Regions from separate parts of the Homo sapiens genome. Here all the other regions are linked to region 3. The links are contacts of gene promoters, found by promoter capture Hi-C in human tissues and cell types (Jung and others, 2019). All regions are on one chromosome and are shown on one strand. The core of a region is centred on a gene start or on the middle of the fragment in contact, and the rest is flanking DNA. Distances in the headings are between cores, read along the strand shown. Region 1 overlaps CREBRF (CREB3 regulatory factor). Region 2 has its middle 31 kb from the start of NKX2-5. Region 3 holds the start of RPL26L1 (ribosomal protein L26 like 1).

Region 1 (2,848 bases), core at 183-2,682, 140 kb before region 3:
AAGTCAAGAGATCAAGGATGAATTTAGAGTGGAGTTAAAGGTCAAAGAAAAGTATGGCCCCAAGCTCCAAAATGGTTCCCATGGACCCAAGCTAGCCCCAGCAGAACCTGGTTACAGGTCTACCCCAGCACCAAGCCAGCAGCTGCAGACCTAGGCTCAGGGCCCACCCATCCCTGGAGTCCTGGACTCCAGGCTCACACCCACAGTCCTAGTTGACAGGCCTGCCCCAAGAGACCCCCATGCCACGCTGGTGCCTGTGGAGTCAGGACCAAGTCCACTCCCACAGATACAGGTGCCAGGTAAGTTCTCGTGGATTCAGACTCAAAGCCCACCCCACTGCCGGTTCAGCTCCTATGGACCCAGGTTTCAGACTGACCCCAAATGATCCAGGCTCCAGGCCTGCTTCCACAGTACCAGGCACCAGGATGACCTCTACAGACCCAAGCCTCAGACCCACCTGGCTGCTGACTCCAGCAATAGGCCAGCCTACCCAAGGACTCCAGGAGCAAACTTGCCTGCAGAGCCCTTCAGCAAGCCCACCCAGAACCTCTAGATGACCTGACAAGTGAAGGGCTTTCCTTGGCAAAGCCAGTCTATAAAGACTGGAAGAGGAGTCCACATGTTTAAATGTATAGACACCAATTAAAGGCCACAAGGATCACAAATAATCAGGGACAAATGACACTAGCAAAGGAAGAAAATTAAGCACCAGCAACTGATCCAAAATAATGCAGATCTATGAACTTCCTAACAAAGAATTCAAAATAATTGTCTTAAAGAAGCTCAGTGAGCAACAAGAGAACATAGACAACCAAATGCAATCTAGAGCTGAAGAACACAAGGACTAAACTGAAATATTCCATAGGGCAATTCAACAGAAGACTTGATCAAACAGAAGAAAGAAGCAGTGAGCTCCAAGACAGGTCATTTGAAATTATCCAGTTAGAGGAACAAAAAGAAAAAGGAATGAAAAAGAATAAAGAAAGCCTACAGGATTTATAGGACACCATCAAGCAAAATGAAATGCACATTATAGGAATAGTGAAAAGAGTAAAGAAAGAGAAAGGGGCAGAAAGCTTATTTAAAGTAATAATGACAGGCCGGGCGCGGTGGCTCACACCTGTAATCCCAGCACTTTGGGAGGCCGATGGGGCAGATCACCTGAGGTCAGGAGTTCAAGACCAGCCTGACCAACATGGTGAAACCCCGTCTCTACTAAAAATACAAAAATTAGCTAGGTATGGTGGGTGTCGGTAATCCCAGCTACTCAGGAGGCTGAGGCAGGAGAATCACTTGAACCCAGGAGGCAGAGGTTGCAGTGAGTCAAGATGGTGCCACTGCACTCCAGCCTGGGCGACAGAGTGGCAAGACTTCGTCTTAAAAAAAAAAAAAAAACTTCACTAAGACACATTATAATCAAATTCTGGAAAGTCAAAGACAAACAGACTTTTGAAAGCAGCAAGAGAAAAGCAACTTGTCATATACAATGAAACTCTCATAAGACTGTCAGTGGTTTTCTCAGCAGAAACCTTGAAGGCTAGAAGAGAGTGAGATAACATATTCAAAGTGCTGAAAGAAAAAAAACCACTGGGCTGGGCATGGTGGCTCATGCAAGTAATTCCAGCACTCTGGGAGGCCAAGGCAGGTAAAATGCTTCAGCCCAGGAGTATAAGACCAGCCTGGGTAACATGGTAAAACCCCATCTCTACAAAAAAAATACAAAAATTAGCTGGGTGTGGTGGCATACACCTCAGCTACTTGGGAGGCTGAGGTGGAAGGATTGCTTGAGCCCAGGAGATTGAGGGTGCAGTAAGCTAGGATCACGCCATTGCACTCTAGCCTGAGCAAGAGTTAAGACCCTGTCTCAGAGAAAAAAACAAAAACAATACCCTACAAAGAACACCATATCCAGCAAGCCAGCTGTCCTTCACAAATGAAAAAAATAAATAAAAGCTTTCCTAAGTTGGGCATGATGATGCACATCAGTAGTTCCAGCTACTCAAGAGGACTGAACTGGGAAGATTGCTTAAGCTCAGGAGTTCAAGACCAGCCTGAGTAACACAGTGAGACCCTCTCTCTTAAGGGAAAACAAAAAAGACTCCCAGAAAACAAAAGCTGAGGGAGTTCATCACCAGTAGGACTGCTTCACAAGAAATGTTAATGGGAGTTCTTCAAGTTGAAATGAAAGGATGCTAACTAACAGCATGAAAACATATGGGTTGGGGGGGAGCGGTGTGGCTCACGCCTGTAATCCCAGCACTTTTCGAGGCTGAGGTAGGTGGATCACCTGAGGTCAGGAGTTTGAGACTAGCCGGGCCAACATGGTGAAACACTGTCTTTACTAAAAATACAAAAATTAGCAGGGCGTGGTGGTGGTCACCTGTAATCTCAGCTACTCAGGAGGCTGAGGCAGGAGAATCGCTTGAACCCGGGAGGTGGAGTTGCAGTGAGCTGAGATCACGCCACTGCACTCCAGCCTGGGCGAGAGAGTGAGACTCCATCTCCAAAAAAAAAAGAAAAGAAAAACATGAAAGTATAAAATTCACTGTGTAAAAATAAGAACAGTCATATTCAGAATGCTCTAATACTGTAACAGTGGTATGCAAAACACTTTTAATGCTAGTATAAAAGTTAAAAAGGCATTAAAAATAACTATATATAAAATAATTTTGGCTGTGCATGGTGACTCACACTACTAATCCCAGCACTTTGGAGGGCCGAGGTGGGCGGATCACTTGAGGTCAAGAGTTTGAGACCAGCCTGGCCAACATGATGAAACCCTGTCTCTACTAAAAAAAAAAAAAAAAAAAAAAAATTATATATATATACACACACACACACACACACA
Region 2 (2,764 bases), core at 94-2,593, 240 kb before region 3:
TGCCCAGGCTGGAGTGCAGTGGCGCAATCTCGGCTCACTGCAAGCTCTGCCTCCCGGATTCAGGCCGTTCTCCTGCCTCAGCCTCCCGAGTAGCTGGGATTACAGGCGCCCGCCACCACGCCCGGCTAATTTTTTGTATTTTTAGTAGAGATGGGGTTTCACCGTGTTAGCCAGGATGGTCTCGATTTCCTGACCTCGTGATCCACCCGCCTCAGCCTCCCAAAGTGCTGGGATTACAGACGTGAGCCACCATGCCTGGCCAACAACAATTTCTTAAAAACTGATTTTAAAATGGGCAAACGACTTGAATAGACATTTCTCCACAGAGGATATACAAATGGCCAGTGAGCATATGGAAAGATGGTCAGCATTACTAGTCATTAGGATAACGCAAATCCAAACCACAACGAGGTTCCATTCTATGCCCATTAGAATGGCTACTATCAAAAGAAAGAGAGAAGGCAAACAAGCAGGGAAAGAAAGAAAAAGAAGAAAGAGGAAAGAGAGAGACGAAGGAAGGAAGGAAGGAGGGAGGGAAGGAGGGAAGGAAGGAAGGGAGGAAGGAAGGAAGGAAGGAAGGATGGAAGGAGGGAAGGAAGGATGGAAGGAAGGGAGGGAGGAAGGGAGGGAGGGAGGGATGGAAGGAGGGAAGGAAGGAACGAAGGAAGGAAGGAATTAAAAAAAGAAGAAGAAGAAGCAAAAGTTGGGCATGGTGGTGCATGCCTACAGACCCAGCTACTGGGGAGGTTGAGGTGGGAGGATCACTTGAGGCCAGAAGTTTGAGACCAGCTTGGGCAACACAGGAAAAAAAAAAAGTTAAAGGAAAGAAAGAAAGAAAACGCTGGCTAGATGTGGAGAAATCGGAACCCTGGTCCCTTGCTGCTGGTAATGTAAAATGGTGTGGCTGTTGTAGAAAAAGTTATGACAATTCCTCAAAAAAAAATGACATACAATTGCCATAAGATCCAGCAATTCCGCTTCTAGGTATATACCCCAAAAAAGTGAAAGCAGAGTGGATATTTGTGCACCAAGATTAACAGCAGCATTATTCACAATAGCCAAAAGGTGGCAGCAAACCAAGTGTCCACTGACAGATGAATAGGTAAATAAAATGCAGAATGTGCATACAATGGAATATTATTCAGCCATAAAAAGGAAGGAGGTTTTTTGGGTTTTTTGTTTTGTTTTGTTTGTTTGCTTTTGAGAAAGGGTCTCATTCTGTTGCCCGGGCTGGAGTGCAGTGGTGTGATCACGGCTCACTGCAGCCTCAACCTCCCAGTCTCAAGCAATCCTCCCACCTCAGCCTCCTGAGTAGGTGAGACTACAGGTGCACACCTCCACACCTGGCGAATTTTCTGCTTATTTTTTATAGAGATGAGGTCTCACTATGTTGCCTAGGCTGGTCAGAATTTTTTTAAGACTTGTCAAGTGAAGCAGTGGGAGTGGAGGAGAAAAAAAGAACTCTGTAACTGGTGGTGATTGGAAGGAAAAAATTTTTAATGCTTTCTTCCTGAACAAATAGCTCAGATTGAAATGGAAGAAAATGTTAACATGTTAAAATATAGACAAACCTTGAGGACATTATGCTAAATAAAATAAGCCAGTCGCAAAAAGATAAATACCCATAGGATTCCACTCATATGAGGTACGCGGAGTAGTTCAATTCATGTAGACACGAAATTGAATGGTGACTTCCAGGGGCTGGAGGGAGGAGGGATTGGGGGGTAATAGGTGTACAGCTTCCATTTAGAAAGATGAAAAACTTCTGGATATGGCTGGTGGGTGCATGCCAACTGATGGTTGCATGACAGTATGAATGTACTTCAAGAACTGAATGCCACAGGATGGCACGCTCGAAAATAGTTAAAACGAGAAATGTTATGGTATATATATTTTATAGAAAGAAGGAAGGAAGAGAAAGAGAAAGAAAGAGAGAGAAAGAAAGAGAAAAAGAAAAGAAAAGAAAGAAAAAGAAAGAAAGAAAGAAAGGAAAGAAAGAAAGAAAGAAAGAAAAAGAAAGAAAGAAAGAAAGAAAGAAAGAAAGAAAGAAAGAAAGAAAGAAAGAAAGAAAGAGGGAGGAGGGGGAGGGGAGGGGAGGGCTCTGCCCGTTCCCATTTCCTATAGGTGGAGGGTTTTCCTCACAGGGATGGAGTCCCCTGCAGTTCTAGGTTTTGCATGGGACCGAGTGGACCCTCAGCGCCTCACTCCTCAATGGCTATAGGGTAGCCCTCGGGCTGCAGGTGAGAGGTGGGCAGCCTGGGCGCAAGGCCCGCTCATAGGTTGTGCTTGTGTGCACTTGGACAGTGCTCACAGAGGGGTGCTCCCTGCAGCAGCGGCTGGGGTGGTCTGAAGACGGGTGAGGCATACGGGACGTCTGCTCTACATGCACATCACCTGTGTCCACTTTCAACCTCCCACGCCTTTGATATTAGATCTGTTGTTGTGTTTATCTTATTTACAGAGGCTTTGCGGGCAGATGGGGTTAGAACTGCTGGAGAGGAGGGAGAAGGGCCGACAGCAGAAACCAGAGCGTCCTGTGAGATGAAGAAAAGGCCGGGAACCTGTAAGAATTCTTTAGTGTTTGGGAAGCAACTTGATTGGGTCCTAGAAAAATGGGGTCTAGGGGGAGACATAACTAGTTATGGAAAAAAAGATGCTTTCCCCCAGATTCTGAGATTATGAACCTGGACCCAAATGCCAGGCTGCCCTCCAGGCATCCCGGGAACAGCTCTCCCCACTGCTCAACACAGCAAATGGGAGATGT
Region 3 (2,881 bases), core at 116-2,615:
GCTCCATAAATATTCCTTTGAGGAATGAATCTAGCCCCTGCTTATTTCACTCATATCCAACTCCCTTCCCTCCTCTCATGCATTCTAAGCTCCAATCACAGAGAACAGAGGGCTTGTACGTTCTCACATGGGCCAGTCTTTTAGAAATTATGAAAGAGTGACTCGCTGCATCTTTACCAGTTCTCCTGCCAAATCCAATGCTATCACATGGCCAGCTCCCACAAATCTCTGTCCATCAATCCCACTACACCCAAATACACTAAAACACTACTCTCACTGCAGCACCTTCCCCTACAGTCTGGTTCAACAAGCCACCCTGGGCAACAACACTTGGCAAACTAGCAGCCAGAAGGTTAAATCAAAAGTATTTTTGGTGGGGCACGGTGGCTCACACTTGTAATCCCAGTGCTTTGGGAGGCTGAGGTGGGAGGATCACTTGAGGCCAGGAGTTCAGAGACCAGCCTGGGCAACATAGCAAGACCCTATCTCTACAAAACAAACAAAAAAGCAGGTTTTTGCTTGGTTGACATACTGTTTTATTAAATTTTACTATTACTATTAAATAATTAAATGCTCTAAAGCAACGCAGGCACTCTCTGGTGGCTCTGAACCCTATCTCTGGCCTAACACATCTGAAGGGTCACACTACTTTCCAGAGTCCTGAGGCATGTGAGTCTGTGACTGCTCCACGCATGACGTTCTTAGGCAACGGTGTCCGAGCGCCACTAGCGCCGGAGGGAGACGTACCTGGACCTCGTCGTCCTTGCGGATGGGCATGGAGCGGACATTGTACTTCTGCCGCAGCTCCTTGGAGAGCGGGGATGACATGATCTTCCTGCGCACGTGTGAGGGGGCATTGAAGTGACGTTTGCGGTTTTTACTGCGGTCCGAGGTAACGAAGGGATTGAACTTCATGGTGACCCTCTACAAAGGGCGGAGAGAGACGGAATGAAGGGGCGCTCAGTGGGTTACAGGGGCCTGTTCTCGACCCAAGACACTCCTCATCCCCCAACAAAGGCTCTACAGGGGAGGTAGCCTCTGAAAAGGCAACTGAGGGAGGACAGAGAGATGCGACTAGTCTGACTATCACATAAAGTGAGGCGTGTGTGGAGGTCGCATGCCCGTCTAAAGGGGTCGTGGGGGAGAGGGTAGCACTGGGACCTTGAGGCTGAGGAAGGAATGCTAGGGTTAGGCAGGAATGGGTGGTCGGGAGGTCACTCAAAGAGAGCTGTGGGGTGACATGTGTTCCCGCGACACATAGGGCAGGGTCTCACGGGGCGGTAGAGTTCACTGTCCGAGAAAACTCCAGCCTCCACTCACCCGGCTACTAGCTGCCTCAGACCCTGAGTGCGCAGGGCCGGAAGTGAGTTTCCGTGCCGCGCAAGCGCAGAAAGACATCGAAGCCCCATTTCCGTAGGAGCGAAGTCGAATGGCGCCCCCAGCGGCTTGGGGTGGGATCTCAGTGCCTCATTCCTGGCGGCCCCGGGAGGGCGATGCCAGTGAGTACAAGGGCCTGCTTGTGTAGGGCCTGCGGTAGAGGCTTACTGGTGTTCTTTTTTTTTTTTTTGAGACGGAGTCTCGCTCTGTCGCCCAGACTGGAGTGCAGTGGCGCGAGCTCGGCTCACTGCAAGCTCCGCCTCCCGGGTTCACGCCATTCTCCTGCCTCAGCCTCCCGAGTAGCTGGGACTACAGGCGCCCCCCACCACGCCCGGCTAATTTTTTGTATTTTTAGTAGAGACGGGGTTTCACCCTGTTAGCCAGGATGGTCTCGATTTCCTGACCTCGTGATCCGCCCGCCTCGGCCTTCCAAAGTGCTGGGATTACAGGCGTGAGCCGCCGCGCCCTCCTACCTCTACTTTTTTCTATCTCTGGGACTAAACGGCGGCCGGCGGCGTGCCTGCGGGTTTGTGGCCGCCGCCCCGCCCCTCTCTCCTAGACCCCGCCCCTCTCATCCAGTCCCCGCCCACTCCGGCCGCTCCGCGCCCACCTGTGGCCCTCTTGGCCCTTCTGCCCGTGCCTGGCCCCGCCGGGTCGCTCCCGAGCTCCGCGTTTCGTTCGCCGACCCCTGGAAGACTGCCTGGAGGCCCGGGCGCCACCCAACCACTGGCTAGGCCGACACTTTGCGCGGACCCTGGGTGTAAAAGGTCCCCGGGTCTCTGGTCCCGACGGAGCTGTGAGGGAGATCAACCACGCCCCCTCCGTGGGCACCGTGGCGGCAGGGAAGGAAAAGGGCTCTGGGTCTCGACTCTCTTCGGGTTAAGAACCGACGGGGTTTATTCTATGCAAGGTGTTATTAACTCCAACTCTCCCTTTCGTTCATTCATTCCATATATGTTGAACGACAACTTAGTGCCAAATGCCGGCATGCTGAAACTCAGAGAGGGAAGATGTCTTGCAAGTACAGCAGCCACACCCAGGCAGGTCCCGTGCTCTCTCTTAGTTTATCAGTGTTCCCTGACATGTAGTGGTGACATTGTTAAACACCTGCGTTTACTAATACTAGATTTTTTTTTTTTTTTTTTTTGAGATAGAGTTTCGCTCTTGTTCCCTGGGCTGCAGTGCAGTGGCACCATCTCGGCTCACCGCAACCTCCGCCTCCCAAGTTCAAGCGATTCTCCTGCCTCAGCCTCCCCAGTATCTGGGATTACAGGTATGCGCCACCACGCCCGGCTAATTTTGTATTTTTAGTAGAGACGGGGTTTCTCCATGTTGGTCAGGCTGGTCTTGAACTCCCGACCTCAGGTGATTCTCCCGCCTCGGCCTCCCAAAGTACTGGGATTACAGGCGTGAGCCACTGCGCCTGGCCTACTAATACTAGGTTTTATTCCGGGCCCTTCACAGTTAATGTTGGAGGCCTCTGGAGGATGGCCACACCTGGGCT

Evidence for each region. The method cuts DNA at HindIII sites, captures the fragments that hold promoters and counts their contacts. A contact is called where the count stands out against the background at its distance.
Region 1: a contact is called between a fragment that was not itself captured here and the fragment with the promoter of RPL26L1 in region 3, in 1 of the 25 tissues and cell types used here (IMR-90 fibroblasts).
Region 2: a fragment that was not itself captured here is called in contact with the fragment with the promoter of RPL26L1 in region 3 in 1 of the 25 tissues and cell types used here (spleen).

What each region holds. Positions count from the first base shown.
Region 1 is chr5:173,100,099-173,102,946 of GRCh38, reverse strand. The region is part of intron 4 of CREBRF (CREB3 regulatory factor); the gene reads right to left. Among named protein-coding and RNA genes, the nearest start is that of BNIP1, 43 kb to the left of the region's middle. The HindIII fragment of the contact is 5,379 bases long and covers 1-2,848 here.
Region 2 is chr5:173,202,745-173,205,508 of GRCh38, reverse strand. No RefSeq gene overlaps it. Among named protein-coding and RNA genes, the nearest start is that of NKX2-5, 31 kb to the left of the region's middle. The HindIII fragment of the contact is 8,150 bases long and covers 1-2,764 here.
Region 3 is chr5:172,957,908-172,960,788 of GRCh38, reverse strand. RPL26L1 (ribosomal protein L26 like 1) reads right to left here and starts at 1,365. Exons shown (of 4, transcript NM_016093.4): 1 at 1,321-1,365; 2 at 748-924. The coding sequence starts at 915. It overlaps RPL26L1-AS1 (RPL26L1 antisense RNA 1), which reads left to right and starts at 1,421. Exons shown (of 4, transcript NR_026682.1): 1 at 1,421-1,499; 2 at 2,532-2,650. The HindIII fragment of the contact is 17,043 bases long and covers 1-2,881 here.